Regions from separate parts of the Homo sapiens genome. Here region 1 is linked to region 2. The links are contacts of gene promoters, found by promoter capture Hi-C in human tissues and cell types (Jung and others, 2019). All regions are on one chromosome and are shown on one strand. The core of a region is centred on a gene start or on the middle of the fragment in contact, and the rest is flanking DNA. Distances in the headings are between cores, read along the strand shown.

Region 1 (7,414 bases), core at 1,623-4,122, 730 kb after region 2:
TCTTAGTATTGTTACCAAGTTCAGGGTCTTTTCTGGGGTGATCAAGCATCCTGGGTCGCCTGGGACCAAGTGGTTTTCTGGGTTGTAGGACTTTGAGTGCTATAGCCTGGAAAGCCCTAGGAAAACCAGGATGGTTGGCCATCCTAGTCTTTCCCCATATCCTCTGTTGTCCAAAAATATGGAAGCAGGTCATTTCTTGACATAGGAGCTGCCTTGACTGGGCTTAAAAAGGCCTGAAAGGCAGCTTAATAATTTACAATGAGAAATAAATGATATTGGATCAGGGGAGGATACTGGAAGAAGAGCTCCATGGGATTTGCTTGGTGCTCGTGAGATTTTGACTGACAAGAGATCTTAGGGCTACTATATTACCCAAATTCAGGGGACTCTGTTCACTTTGCCAGCAGCCTGGGATTAATTCTGTAGTGCTAATGCCATTCTGAGAAGCCTTTCAATGAATCTGAGCTCAGGGTTCTTAGTCCCCCTGTTACTGAAGCTTCTCCCCAGACAGTGTCGTTTTTGTTTTTTCCTTCCTTTCTAAGCTTCTGGTGCTGACTAGTCTCCCCTTCTAATGGACAGTGTTTAGATACGTTATTGTCTAAAGGTAGATCTGGCCAGGCATGGTGGCTCACACCTGTAATCCCAGCACTTTGGGAGGCCAAAGCTGGCAGATCACCTGAGGTCAGGAGTTTGAGACCAGCCTGGCCAACACGGTGAAACCCCGTCTCTACTAAAAATACAAAAATTAGCTGGACATGGTGACAGGCACCTATAGCTGAGATCCATTGTGAGTGCCATTGCACTCTAGCCTGGGCGACAGAGTGAGACTCCATCTCAAAAAATAATAATAAAAATAAAGGTAGATTAAAAAAAAAGAGACATAATTTGCGTTATCGTAAAATTTACTTTTTTAAAGTGTGTAATTCAGTGGTTTTTAGTATGTTCACAAAGTCATTCACCACTGTCTAATTCCAGAACATTTTTCTTACCCCAAAATGAAATCCTATACCCATTAGCATCACTGCCCATTTCCTGCTTCCTTTAGACTGTGGCAACCACTCATCTATTTTCTGTCTCTATAACTTTGCGTATTTTAGACATGTCATATAAATGGAATCCTATGGTATGTGGCCTTTTTTAAAAATCACTGGCTTCTTTCACTGAGCATAATTTTTCAAGTTCTTTTAAGCTGTAGTATGTATCAGTACTTCATTCTTTATAACTGCCAAATAATAGTTCTTTGTATGGATATACCACATTTTATTTCATTCATTCATTAGACATTGATGGTTCTACTTTCTGGCTATTATGAGTAGTAGTACTATGAACATTTGTGTACATATTTTTGTGTGGACACGTTTTTACTTCTCTTGGCTGTATACCTAGCAGTGGAATTGCTGGTCTTCAGGTGTGTCTTACTGATGTTTTTTTTTGAGATGGAGTTTTGGTCTGTCGCCTGGGCTGAAGTGCAGTGGCGCAATCTCGGCTCACTGCAACCTCCACCTCCCAGGCTCAAGCAATTCTCCTGCCTCAGCCTCCCAAGTAACTGGGATTACAGGCGCACGCCACCATGCCCAGCTAATTGTTGTATTTTTAGTAGAGACGGGGTTTCACCATGTTGGCCAGGCTGGTCTCGAACTCCTGGGCTCAAGCAATCCTCCTGCCTTGGCCTCCCAAAGTGTTGGGATTACAGGCGTGAGCCACTGTTCCTGGCCTTATCTTACTCTCTCTTTTTTTTTTTGAGACGGACTCTCACTCTGTCTTCCATGCTGGAGTGCAGTGGTGCAGTCTTGGCTCACTGCAACCTCCACCTCCCAGGTTCAAGCCATTATCCTACCTCAGCCTCTGGAGTAGCTGGGACTACAGGTGCAGCTAATTTTTGTCATTTTAGTAGAGATGGGGTTTCACCATATTGGTCAGGCTGGTCTCCATCTCCTGACCTCAGGGGATCCGCCTGCCTCGGCCTCCCAAAGTGCTGGGATTATAGGTGTGAGCCACTGTGCCCAACCATCTTTAAGCCTCCTTAAGGAGGCTGTGTCTCTAACATGCCCTGTTGGTTTTATAGTTGGACTCTCACTGGACAGCCTCGTTTTTCTAAGATTTGGGGGTTATAAGGATCAGAGTTGTCCCCAGTTGGCTCCTTTCACCTCGTCCATAAGGTTGTTGTGAGGCTTCACTGAGGTAATCTGTATAAAGTAAGGTGCTGGCCTGTACCCTGTACATCACTCAGTAGTGGTGATTTCACTGCCCTTTGCCTCCTGCCTTTGGCTTCTGGCTATCTCCAAACACCCCATGCCTTCTGTGCTCCACCCTCTGTTGAAACACAGGAATCTAAAACCATTCATTGATACTTTTTGAGTGATTATACTGAAAACAATTGCATGTTGTCTCATGCAGAATTTTCGTGTTAAACCCTGTGTTGCAAGGATGCCATTAACCAGCACACAGATGGCGGTGGAGATTGATTGATTGAGATGGGGTTTCGCTGTGTTGCCCAGGCTGGAGTGCAGTGGTGTAATCGTAGTTCACTGTAACTTTGAACTCCTGGACTCCAGTGATCCTCCTGTGTCAGTTTTCCAAGTAACTGGGACTACAGTCTCATGTCACTGTGCCTGGCTAATTTTTAAAATTATTTTATAGAGCTGGGGTCTCGCTATGTTGCCTAGGCTCTTCTCAAACTCCTGGCCTCAAAGCGATCCTCCTGCCTCAGCCTCCCAAAGTGTTGGGATTACCAGCGTGAACCACCACACTTGGCTGGGGATGGAGTTTTAGACACCAGAGGCTTCCTTCCGAGGTTGACCTAGAAAGCACCCTTGGTGGGTGCCATGGGATGGGGGAATACAGTCAAAAGGAACCTGCTCTTCCCGCTGCGCCTCCACCTGAGGTGGATGTGTCTGCTGGGGCTGCTGGAGTCTCCATCTTCCACTTTAACTTCACTTAAGAGCTGAAAGCTCTGCCCCTTCTTCAAGATTTTCCCTGCTGTCTCCCCTTCCCTGCTCAACCAGAGATTCCTCTTATTCTTCCTCTTGCTATTAGTATTAATCTGGCTCACTGACTCTTTTCCTTAACCTCATCCTAAAACTGTCTGATGCATATTTTATATTTTCTTGCATGTTTGACTTTTAGTTAGTATTTTACAGTAATTTCGTTCTGCAGCCATCCTCTTATCTGATACCCTGGAACTCATTCCTGTGCCTATCAGTTCTCACCTCTGGTAATTAAACTTTGTAAAAAAGAAATGTGACATTTGGACATATTCTCTTATTAGTAAAGGTATTATTGTGTATGAGACTAATGCTGTGCATCTATAATAAGTTGTTTCACCTTGTGAATACTAATGTAATTTGGAAATAAACCTTTCTTTGTTAAAGACTTTTTCTACATGGGCCACGTTTTTCCAGACCTATTTCCTAATAATTTGTGGTTTTTAAAGGTATGTCAATAGAGATGCTGTAGCCAGCATGGCTGGATTCTGTTAGATAAACATTTTGTGAGATTGCTTACCTTAAACAATTGTCTTTAAAAGTTAATTTCTTCCCTAATGTGTCAGTAAGGAAATTCTATAGTATTTAAGAAGCCTGATAAAGTCCAGTTAAAACATTTTGCATTGCTCTTTAAACATCTTTTCTGAGGGTTGATGTGTTCGTGTTTGTTTGGTTCACATAGTTTCTTCTGAATTTTAAGAAAGCTTTGTCAGAATCAGTAACTTGCCTATAGTGTATTTTTCATGACCATATGGCTTTCTTCATCAAAAACAGCTAAGTAAAAATTTCAGTGAATAATAGTATATATATATGGGAATGTATTCCTCATCATTTGTATGCTCTTGAGAGAGTGACTCATGTACTGTTTTCTATTGAGTTCCCGAAAGTTTATAAAGAGATGACAAACAATTGGCTATGGGATTGAAATAATGCACATGTAAAATGGAAGGGAAAACATGGAAACAGTTTCTTCCTTTGTTCTTCCCTTACCTTGATGAAATTTTTACCACTTAACGTTTTTCAGTAAAGTCAAGGTCAGTATCAGAGCCTAGTACGGTTCTGCTTGCCGCTGTCTGAGGATTACCTGTCTTATTACAGAATGTACATGCTCCCAGAGGAGAAGATACAGTTTGATTTCAGGATGACAAACAGCTCTTCTGGGACAATAGTGTCAAGTATAAAAGGATTATAAAGGTTTTAGGACCATGGGATGGTTTGAAGGGGAAAGGGTGAAATGACAGTTAAGGTTGGCATCACCGAGGTCCCAGTTGTTGGCTGCCCCCTACTTCTCCTGTTCCCCTCTGGCAGTATTTTACAGATGTATTTCCTTTGACCTTTCCTTTAGTAGGAAGTTGTAGGCTTTAAGATCCAGCAGAAAAAAATTATGAGCCATTTGTGACCCTCTTGAGCAGTCCTTCAGGTAGAACACATTTCATAAGAGCTAGTGAATGGTCTTGGGTAATTAAAGCTCACTTTATGATTATACAGTGTGGTGGCCAGCCCAGAGGGAACATCACAAATACACATTATGAATGTATAGAATTGAGACTTTATACCTGGAGACTGTTGGATGACCTGGTCCTCTGCCCCCAGGCCTACCCTTCTGCCCATCCTCATCCAATTCTGTTTTGATTTTTAAAAAGTATGTGCTTCTTAGCCCTCTCATTGCTTCACTGTGAGGGGAAAAACTTTTCTATTGAGGTGCTGAAGCTGTGCTTTCCAGGACTCATACTTATGTGCTGTTGAATGAGTCTCAGTGCTCCTAGGAGTCTATAAAAGGAATAGAAGACTTCTTTTCTCTAACTCCCTTATGGTTTGTATTTTATCTGCTAAGAGACACTGGCATTTCATGGAGATGGGAGAGAAAAAGACACAGCCTACTTAGACAGTTCCTTTATTCCAACATATATACTCACTTCACATATTCATAGACACCTTCCACCTAGCATCAAATTCTGAACTCATAGAAGACTTAGGTGTTTTTGGTTTTGTATGCATAGCTTTTGAAATCCCTGGGTTGAAAATTTTCTAGGTGTTGTTTGTATGCTCTAGTCAAGCCCAGGACATAAAGGGTTATGTTAAAATTACTTTCCTTAGTGACTATTAACCAGAAATTTTATCTGTCAGGAGAAAGGATTCATGCAACTCTAAGAATGCATTGCCCTCTGCATAGGCTATTAGCTTTGGCAACCGAAGATAGATGAGACTTAGGCTGTGTTTAAATTTTTCATTGTGATGAGACAAATCTATTATTATAAAAGCCCTACTTTATCAGTGAGAGTGTTTCCTTATGTTGTTTTAATTAAAGGAGCAGTGTGTTTTTAAATTTAATTATGGTACCTTGAAGATCTGATACTAGCTGTAAGCTAAGGATTCTTTGGGTTTTCAAGATTTTTTTTTTGGAGACGGAGTTTCACTCTGTTGCCCAGGCTGGAGTGCAGTGGCGTGATCTGGGCTCACTGCAACACCTGCTTCCTGGTTTCAAGTGATTCTTCTGCCTCAGCCTCCCAGGTAGCTGGGATTACAGGTGCGGGCCACCATGCCCGGCTGATTTTTTGTATTTTTAGTAGAGACAGGTTTCACCATGTTGGTCAGGCTGGTCTCGAATTCCTGACCTCAAATGATCTGCCATCTTCAGCCTCCCAAAATGCTGGGATTACAGGCGTGAGCTACAGTGCCCAGCCAGTTTTCAAGATTTTTAATGCATTTGGAGCAGCGCTATCCTAAAGAACCTTCTTTGATGATGGAAATTTTCTCTATCTGCACCATCCAATATGGTCTGGTAACCACCAGCCACATGTGGCTATTGAGCACTTAAAATGTGGCTGAGACTGAGAAACTAAAATTTTAATTTTCTTGAAAATGTAAATTAATTAATTAATTAATTTATTTATTTATTTAGAGACAAGGTCTTGCTCTGTTACCCAGGCCGGAGTGCAGTGGTGCAATCATAGTTCACTGCAGCCTCGACCTCCTGGGCTCAAGTGATTCTCCTGCCTTAGCCTTCTGAGTAGCTGGGATTACAGGCATGTACCACCATACCTGGCTAATTAAAAAAAAAAAATTTTGTAGATATGGGGTCTCTCTATGTTGCCCAAGCTGGTCTGGACTCCAGGCCTCAGCCTCCCAAAGGAGAAAATGTAAATTTATATAGTCGCATGTGATTAGTGGTTATTGTGTTGGACAGCACAGATTTAGAATCTGAGGAAACTCTCCATTTAGTATAATGCCATCTGAAGCTCTTAACCAGTTGAGGCTGGTTAAATCTGAAGTTGATATTGGATAATATTGCTATTAGGCCAATGAGAGATTTCTTTAATAAAGATGCAAGTTTATCAAACTTAAATATGCTAGATATGAACTTTGGGAAGGCAAAAATTAATTCCAGAAATAATTCCAATATAATTAATTGAACAAATATTTAGAAAATGTTATCTAGGATAAAGAAGTGTAGTAAATATTGTGGAGGACTCAGAGGTGAGTGGGACTTAGGTGAGGCTGCCTATTTTGAGTCCTGCTGGGGAGGCCTTGAAAGGTCAAGGAGAAGTTCTTTTTTTTTTTTTTTTGAGATGGAGTCTTGCTCTGTCACCAGGCTGGAGTGCAGTGGCACGATCTCAGCTCACTGCAACCTCTGCCTCCCAGGTTCAAGCGATTCTACTGCCTCAGCCTCCCGAGTAGCTGGGACTACAGGTGCACGCCACCACATCCAGCTAATTTTTTGTATTTTTAGTGGAGACAGGGTTTCACCATGTTGGCCAGGATGGTCTTGATCTCTTGACCTTGTGATCCTCCCACCTTGGCCTCCCAATGTCCTGGGATTACAGGTGTGAGCCACTGCGCCCGGCCAGGGGAAGCTCTTTCTAAGGGAGTAGCTTAGAGCACAGAATGCCAACTGGGTTATCATCAGGCTGTAAACAGTAGGATTTCAGTTTGTGCAAGCACGATGGTTGGGGCTGTAACAGGAGAAGGGGGAGCTGTTTACATCAGGGGAACATTAGGTTACATTTGGCTCTGACAGGCAAGATTAATTTTGTCTGAGAGAAGGTTGAGGTGGGATTGGAATTTTCCCAGGTATGCCCTGCGATGTTCTGCTGAGTTTCATGTGTGTTGGAGCAGGCCTCTCAGGCCATCACAGTTCTGGGAGATGGACTTTCCAAAGATTGGGAAGCTGGAGGCAGGGACACCTGGACACAGAGCCTTCTTCACCCCCACCTGCATCCCAGGTGAGGAGGAATTCTTGAAAATGCCGAGTTTGACTCACCAACCAGGAGTATCTAATGTATATAAATATTCCTTTAAACGTAAGTATAGTGATGAGTAGATAAGCCAGAGTATTTAAAAGCCACAGCAAAGATTCAGCTTCCTCTCCGCTCCCCCGTGCCCCACATCTGGGAGGACCCCACCTGAGCTTGGTGTTATAGTTGGCTGAT
Region 2 (6,697 bases), core at 3,545-6,044:
AATTAGAGTTCCTATACTCACAGCATTTAGAGATGAGCAGAGAAGACAACTTAATACAGTTAAGATGTAATTCCTACGATGATACAGGAAATATAGTGTGCTGTGGGAATCTACAAGGCTTAGAGGTGAGAGAGAACACAAGACAAATAAATCCAGTATAAATTTAGCAAATATGGAAGGTGGAGGGAAGAGGGGAGATGAAACTGGACAAGGAGGTAAGCAGAGACTGATTGGTTCATGGAGCATGCTAAACTTGTTAAGGAGTTTGGACTTTATTCTTAGTGCAATGTAAAGTCATTTTATAATTTTTTTAATTAATCATGCAATCCGATTTACATTTTTAGAAAGATCATACTAATTACACTGCGGAAACTGGATAATCGGTAACTGAACACTGTGACACCAGTTGGGAGATGAGTGGTGATGGCCTGGTCTAGAGTCTTGACTATGAGGATGGGGTACAGTGAAAAGATAAGAGAAACATTTAGGTTTTGTGCTAAAAAACATTTAGGCTTGGAGGAGGGGGTGTGTGGAGATGAGAGAGATGTGTCACTTGGCCTGGTCCTGTGTAATTTGACCAATTCTGGATACATCTGACCCAAATAAATATATTCAAAAAACTATTATATATACCCTTCTGGTGCTTTAGAGAAGCCAGATTGGAATCAGAATTGTAAGTAATCAGGATTTTTTGTTAATGGGAATTAATCAAAAGGAGAATTGAAACAAAAGAAAGAATGTGCATAGTATGAAGAGAGCTTATGGCAGGAACTCCAACATTTGAGTAGGAGGTGGGTCAAGGAAGTGGACCTAAAGAATGACCAAGATGTGACTGAAGAGTCCTAAGAAAAAAAAAAAAACAGGGTGGTTTTTAGTAACTATAGCTTATTAGTGTATTTCCAGAAGAATGGAGTGGTAAATACTGTTACATGGCACAAAGAGGTTAAGCTACGAGAATTGAAAATGTCAGCTGGGCGTGGTGCTCACACCTATAATCCCAGCACTTTGGGAGGCCAAAGTGGGAGTATCACCTGAGCTCGGGAGTTCGAGACCAGCCTGGCCAACATGGTGAAATCCCATCTCCACTAAAAATACCAACAAATTAGCTGGGTGTGGTGGTGGGTGCCTGTAATCCCGGCTGCTCTGGAGGCTGAGGCAGGAGAATCGCTTGAACCCGGGAGGTGGAGGCTGCAGTGAGCCGAGATGGCGCCACTGCACTCTAGCCTGGATGACAGAGCGAGACTCCATCTCAACAACAACAAAAAAGAATTGAAAATGTCTGTTGATTTAAGAGTGTTTTTTAAACTTTCTTTTCCTTAATGCCTGCTAAGGAGCCCTTTTAGACTCCATCTTCTCACCACCCTGCCAATCAAATTCCTCACCCATAAAACTTTTTATTATTCTTTCTTTTTCAACTGTAAATTGACAAATTATAGTTGTATATATTTAGGGGTACCAGATGTTATGATTTATGAAATGTGGAATAATTAAATGAAGCTAATTAATATCACCATAAAATTTTAATACCACAGAATATTCTCTGTTTATGTATTGTATTTGTGCTTTACACATAAAAAGAGTATTATATTTTTTTCACCTCACAAGAAGCAGTTTTTATCTGCTTTGAGAATGCATGATTTAACACACAGAGGACACTGGTGATCTTGGTAAAGGTAGTTTTGGTGGGCTGGGTGCGGTGGCTCACACCTGTAATCCCAGCACTTTGGGAGGCTGAGGCGGGCAGATCACGAGGTCAGGAGTTCGAGACCAGCCTGGCCAACATGGCGAAACCCTGTCTCTACTAAAAATACAAAAGTTAGCTGGGCATGGTGGTAGGCGCCTGTAATCCCAGCTACTCGGGAGGCTGAGGCGGAAGAATCACTTGAACTCTGGAGGCGGAGGTTGCAGTGAGCCGAGATTGCCATTGCACTCCAGCCTGGGCGACAAGAGCAAGACTCCATCTCAGAAAAAAAAAATAGTTTTGGTGGTAGTTCAGTGGAATGCTAGAAATAAGACATTGCAGTGGGCTGGGAAATAAATAGCAAGAAGTGTAAAAAAATAGAGATATGTAGAGTAGATTCAAGAAGTCTAGCTGTGAAGAGGATGAAAAGACAGGAAAATAAATGCAGCAGTTCATAAAGTGAAGGAAGAATACATTCAAATGCTGAAGGAAAGGTGTGAATAGAGGGGGAAAAGCTGACATAGGAGAGAGGGAAAAACGGAAAGAGGACCCTGACATAGCAGGAGAGGATGCTACTGAGAGACTAGGTCAAAGGGTTTGCCTTCTCTAAGGAGAAGGAACACTTTCTACTCTTCAGATTGAAGGGAAGGTTTGTATACTTGACTGCAGGCAGATGATGGCTCTCCTTCTCTGTGTAATGGGAGAGAGGTCATTTCCAAAGGGAGAGAGAAGTCCTCTTCTCTGTAAATACCATGTGCTACTCATGAATTGACACAGTACTGAGCTACTTAAAAATATTTAAATCTGCAAAGAACTCCCATAGCGTATGTGTATATGTATTTTTTTTTAAGAGATAGGGTCTTGTTTTGTTGCCCAGGCTGAAGTGCAGTGGACCAATCATAGCTCACTGTAACTTTGAACTCCTGGGCTCAAGTGATCCTTCTGCCTCATTCTGCCTCTACCTCCTGAGTAGCTAGGACTACAACCACATGCCACAAAGCCTGGCTAATGTTTAAATTTTTTGTAGAGATGGAGTCTCGCTATGTTGCCCAGGCTGATTTCCAGCTCCTGGCCTCAAGTGATTTTCCCGCCTCACCCACCCAAAGTGCTAGGATTACAGGCGTGAGCCACCGCACTCCATCTGCCCATAGTATATTGGTTTGTTTTTTTTTTTTTTGAGACGGAGTCTTACTCTATTGCCAGGCTGGAGTGCAGTGGCGCAATCTCAGCTTACCACAACCTCCGCTTCCTGGGTTCAAGCGATTCTCCTGCCTCAACCTCCCGAGTAGCTGGGACTACAGGCACGTGCCACCACGCCCAGATAATTTTTATATTTTTAGTAGTGACGGGGTTTCTCCATATTTGCCAGGATGGTCTCGATCTCTTGACCTCGTGATCCACCCACCTCAGCCTCTCAAAGTGCTGGGATTACAGGCATGAGCCCTACCGTGCCTGGCCGTATATTATATTAAATGGTTAGAAATAAAAATCATAAGATTAAGTAAGAAAATATAATCTTGTTGCAAAGAGAGCTTTCCTAAAGATACGTAAGGTTTTTTTTTTTTTTTTTTTTTTTTTTTTTTTTTTTTTTTCGAGGCAGAGTCTCGCTCTGTCGCTCAGGGTGGAGTGCAGTGGTGAGGTCTCAGCTTACTGCAACTTCCGCCTCCCGGGTTCAAGGGATTCTCCTGCCTCAGCCTACCAAGTAGCTGGGACTACAGGCGTGTGCCACCACACCTGGCTAATTTTTGTATTTTTAGTAGAGACAGGGTTTCACTATGTTGGCCAGGTTGGTCTCGAACTCCTGACTTTGTGATCCGCCCGCTTCAGCCTGCCAAAGTGCTGAGATTACAGGCGTGAGCCACCGCGCCTGGCCAAGATTCGTAAATTAAGATAATTCTTCATTAACCTCATTCACTTCACTTCTCCTATAGTGTCAATTGAAAGTGTCCCTCTGTCTTTCCCAAATTAATCCTTTCACTTGTAACTTGATCCCATTCCTTTCCTTCTCTTCTGGGAGACAAGACTTTTTCTTGAATCTTCAAATAGTTGCTTGCTTCCTGCCCCCAAATAGATATCTTGTATTCTTTAAAACAAACCCCAAACTTTCCCCCACCTTGCCACTCTCAATAATCTTGCTTCATGCCCCAAATGATGAAGGATTGGTCTACACTTGCAGTCTTTCCTCAGTTACTATTAAAGCATCTCTCTCAAACAGCTCAATGACTTTCTAATTATAAAATCCAACGACCTATTCTGATTTCAGCTTCCTCCTCTGACCATTGCAGCATTTTATGTCATTGATAACTTTCTCCTAAACAAAAATACTTCTTACCCTTTTATATGAAACTTCATCTGTTTTGGGTCTCACCTTGAAAGTCTTTCGGGCTTAATTCTCATAATTTTTTTTAAAGTCTTTCTACAATCTCCATGTAAACCACTGTTTCAAATTCGATAAAACTCAAACTCCATAAAATACCTCCTCCTGTCACTGGCACCATCTTCTTAATCACACATAAGGCTGTAAGTTTCAGGTTCAAACAAATCTACCAAATACAAACAGCCACATCGCCCGTCACTCTTCCACACTCACTGCCACCTGCTCAGCTTAGAACCCCGTTACCTCTCTCCTGAAGAACTGCAACACCCTTCTCACTGCATTCCTCACCCCAGGCTCTTCCAGGCACCACCCGCTAACAGGACGTCTGCTCAGGTCCGTTTGGGGTTTTGTCCTCCAAAGCAGAAACCTGGGACTGAGATTCCTGCCGTCTGTACTCCAGCTCACTATAGAGGGGGAACCCAGTAAGCTTGACCTCCGGGGCTCAGGCGCCTGAGAACACTGGGCTGCAGGTGGACCGCTCCCTTCTGGCCTTGCTGGCGAGAAAGCCCGGAAGGCCGGGAGTGGGGGGGAAGCGAGGCCCGGGCCAACAGCACCAAAGACGCTCCTAGAGCCCAGATCGGAGTCGGGGGCCCCAGCTATTCAGCCTACTCCCGGGTTTTGGAGCTGTCCCCAGTCCACAGATTTCCCGCCCCTCACACTCACCCCAACACCTGTGCCAGTCAGTGATTCGGCGCCGGATCCTCTCCTACCGAAGCTGGAGAAGCCGAGAAGGCCGCGAGGACCCGCAGCTGGAGTGCCCAGGAAATTGCCTGATTAACAGCTTCAAAGACACCGACTCTGTCTACCGTATTAGAAATTTTAAATATGCAGGAAGACCGTAAATGAGAGGAAAGACGTCTCTTGAGGCTTAGTATCTAAATCTTCTACATAATCCAGGGCCTAGAAAAATGGTGGGTTTCTCTCCATCTAGATTCAGGCGGTCATCTGCTGCCTAACGCAGTCTGGGGTCCCTCATGGTAGGGGAGGCGGGGTCAGGAATGGGCGGGGCATTCGCTGTTGGTGCCGACGGATAGAGCCAATGATTGTGGATGACAGCGGCACAGAATGGGCGGAGTCTGGAGGGGCGGGATTTGGAGAAGAGAAAGCGGTGATGCGAAGAGGGGGCGGGACCAGAGAGTGGATGGCAGAGGTGGGCTGTAGAGCCAAAGTGGGGTGGGAGCGCGAAGATGGCAGCTGCTGAGGAGGAGCCGAAGCCCAAAAAGCTGAAGGTGGAGGCGCCGCAAGCGCTGAGGTGAGCGCTGCCGGACTTGGGGAGGAGGGTGACGGCGCTGCAAGCAAGCCAGGGCCCACGTGGGGTTGCACGGCCCCGACGCTGGGTGGTGTCTCTCACTGCCAGCTTGGGGCCAACACGCAGGACCTCCCCCAGCTGCCCGCTTGGCCGCGACCCCTTGCCAGACGTTCTCTCCGTTTGGCTGAGTCCCCGCCTGTCTGGTGCAGCTCCGGCTCCAGCAGCCCTTCGCCAGTCGTGGCCCGCAGGGGGACCGAGCTGGCTGACCGCGCCACCTGCGAGCAAGCCCAGGCTGGGCTGGTGCGACCCCGGAGGGTCGGACCGGAGCAGCGTCTGTAGGCGGCCGCCTTCTCTTCCCGGGGGATGGCGGGAAAGAGGCTCGGCAACTGCTGTACACTGGGGCAAAGTCAGAATTCTTGGGGATTTTTCAGAGTGTTGCGGAAGGGCACGTTGACCTTCCTTTTCGTGCACATTCTGAAAGCCCGTACCTTTGAGGACCCTCTACCAGGGACCCAGACCCCTCCGATGCTTTGCAGGGGCAGCATTTGGATGAATGGATAGGAAAGGTTGATTTCTCTTTTTTATTTACACTTTTTGGCAGCAACGGGGACAGTGCTGCCCCTAACACCTGCCTCACATGTGATTGATGTTGCAACTTTTACTTATGAAGAGTCATTTGTTAAAATATCCCTTCCTAATAAGTATAAAGTGAAGCAGGCAGTCTTTGATGATTTGGAAATGTTCGCTGAAAGGCAGCGATTTTTTTTTCCATCTTAAAATAGACATATCAAACTGATTTAAAACTATTAGGACACTCCTGATTAAACAGGACATATCCCATTTCTTCCAGTATCACTCTTCTTCACCTCCAAAGGAAGGAATCACTCACAATTGAAAAGAAAAGGACACTTAGGGGCCTGGTGGTGTGTTCATGCTGCTTTGAATGGAGGGTGAACAAATCCTTGCCAGTTCCTTTAATGTATTCCTACTACCCTCAAAGGGTTAGTGTGCCTACCTTATACCAAGAACATAAACTTTAAAATAAAAACCCTCAGGATATTCTATTTTTATTTTAAATATTCCAACTATATGCAGAATAAAAAGCAACGGCTTTTGAATCAGACCTACCTGAGTTCAAGGCATGTGCTTTCCCTACTCTGCCCTTTATTAGAGTATTTCCTTATAAGGCACCTCCTTCGCCAAACTGGAAGACAGATGCAACTTTTCCCTACCATCCTACTGAACATATAACCCTTAGATTTCCTTAGATTTTTCCTTAATAAAAATTATTATATATAATGCTGATCCATTTTCACTGTGTTTTCCTATTTATTATCTTGTTGGACAGTTCTGTGATCAAAGGAAGGCAAGAATTATGCCTATTTTACAA

The links. The method cuts DNA at HindIII sites, captures the fragments that hold promoters and counts their contacts. A contact is called where the count stands out against the background at its distance.
Region 1: a fragment that was not itself captured here is called in contact with the fragment with the promoter of AP3M1 in region 2 in 1 of the 25 tissues and cell types used here (psoas muscle).

What each region holds. Positions count from the first base shown.
Region 1 is chr10:74,879,201-74,886,614 of GRCh38, forward strand. All of the region lies in intron 3 of KAT6B (lysine acetyltransferase 6B), which reads left to right. Among named protein-coding and RNA genes, the nearest start is that of KAT6B, 56 kb to the left of the region's middle. The HindIII fragment of the contact is 7,129 bases long and covers 1-6,437 here.
Region 2 is chr10:74,146,034-74,152,730 of GRCh38, forward strand. AP3M1 (adaptor related protein complex 3 subunit mu 1) reads right to left here and starts at 4,795. Exons shown (of 9, transcript NM_012095.6): 1 at 4,722-4,795. ADK (adenosine kinase) reads left to right here and starts at 5,188. Exons shown (of 11, transcript NM_006721.4): 1 at 5,188-5,310. The coding sequence starts at 5,246. RefSeq lists enhancers at 4,719-4,948, 5,359-5,538. The HindIII fragment of the contact is 9,762 bases long and covers 853-6,697 here.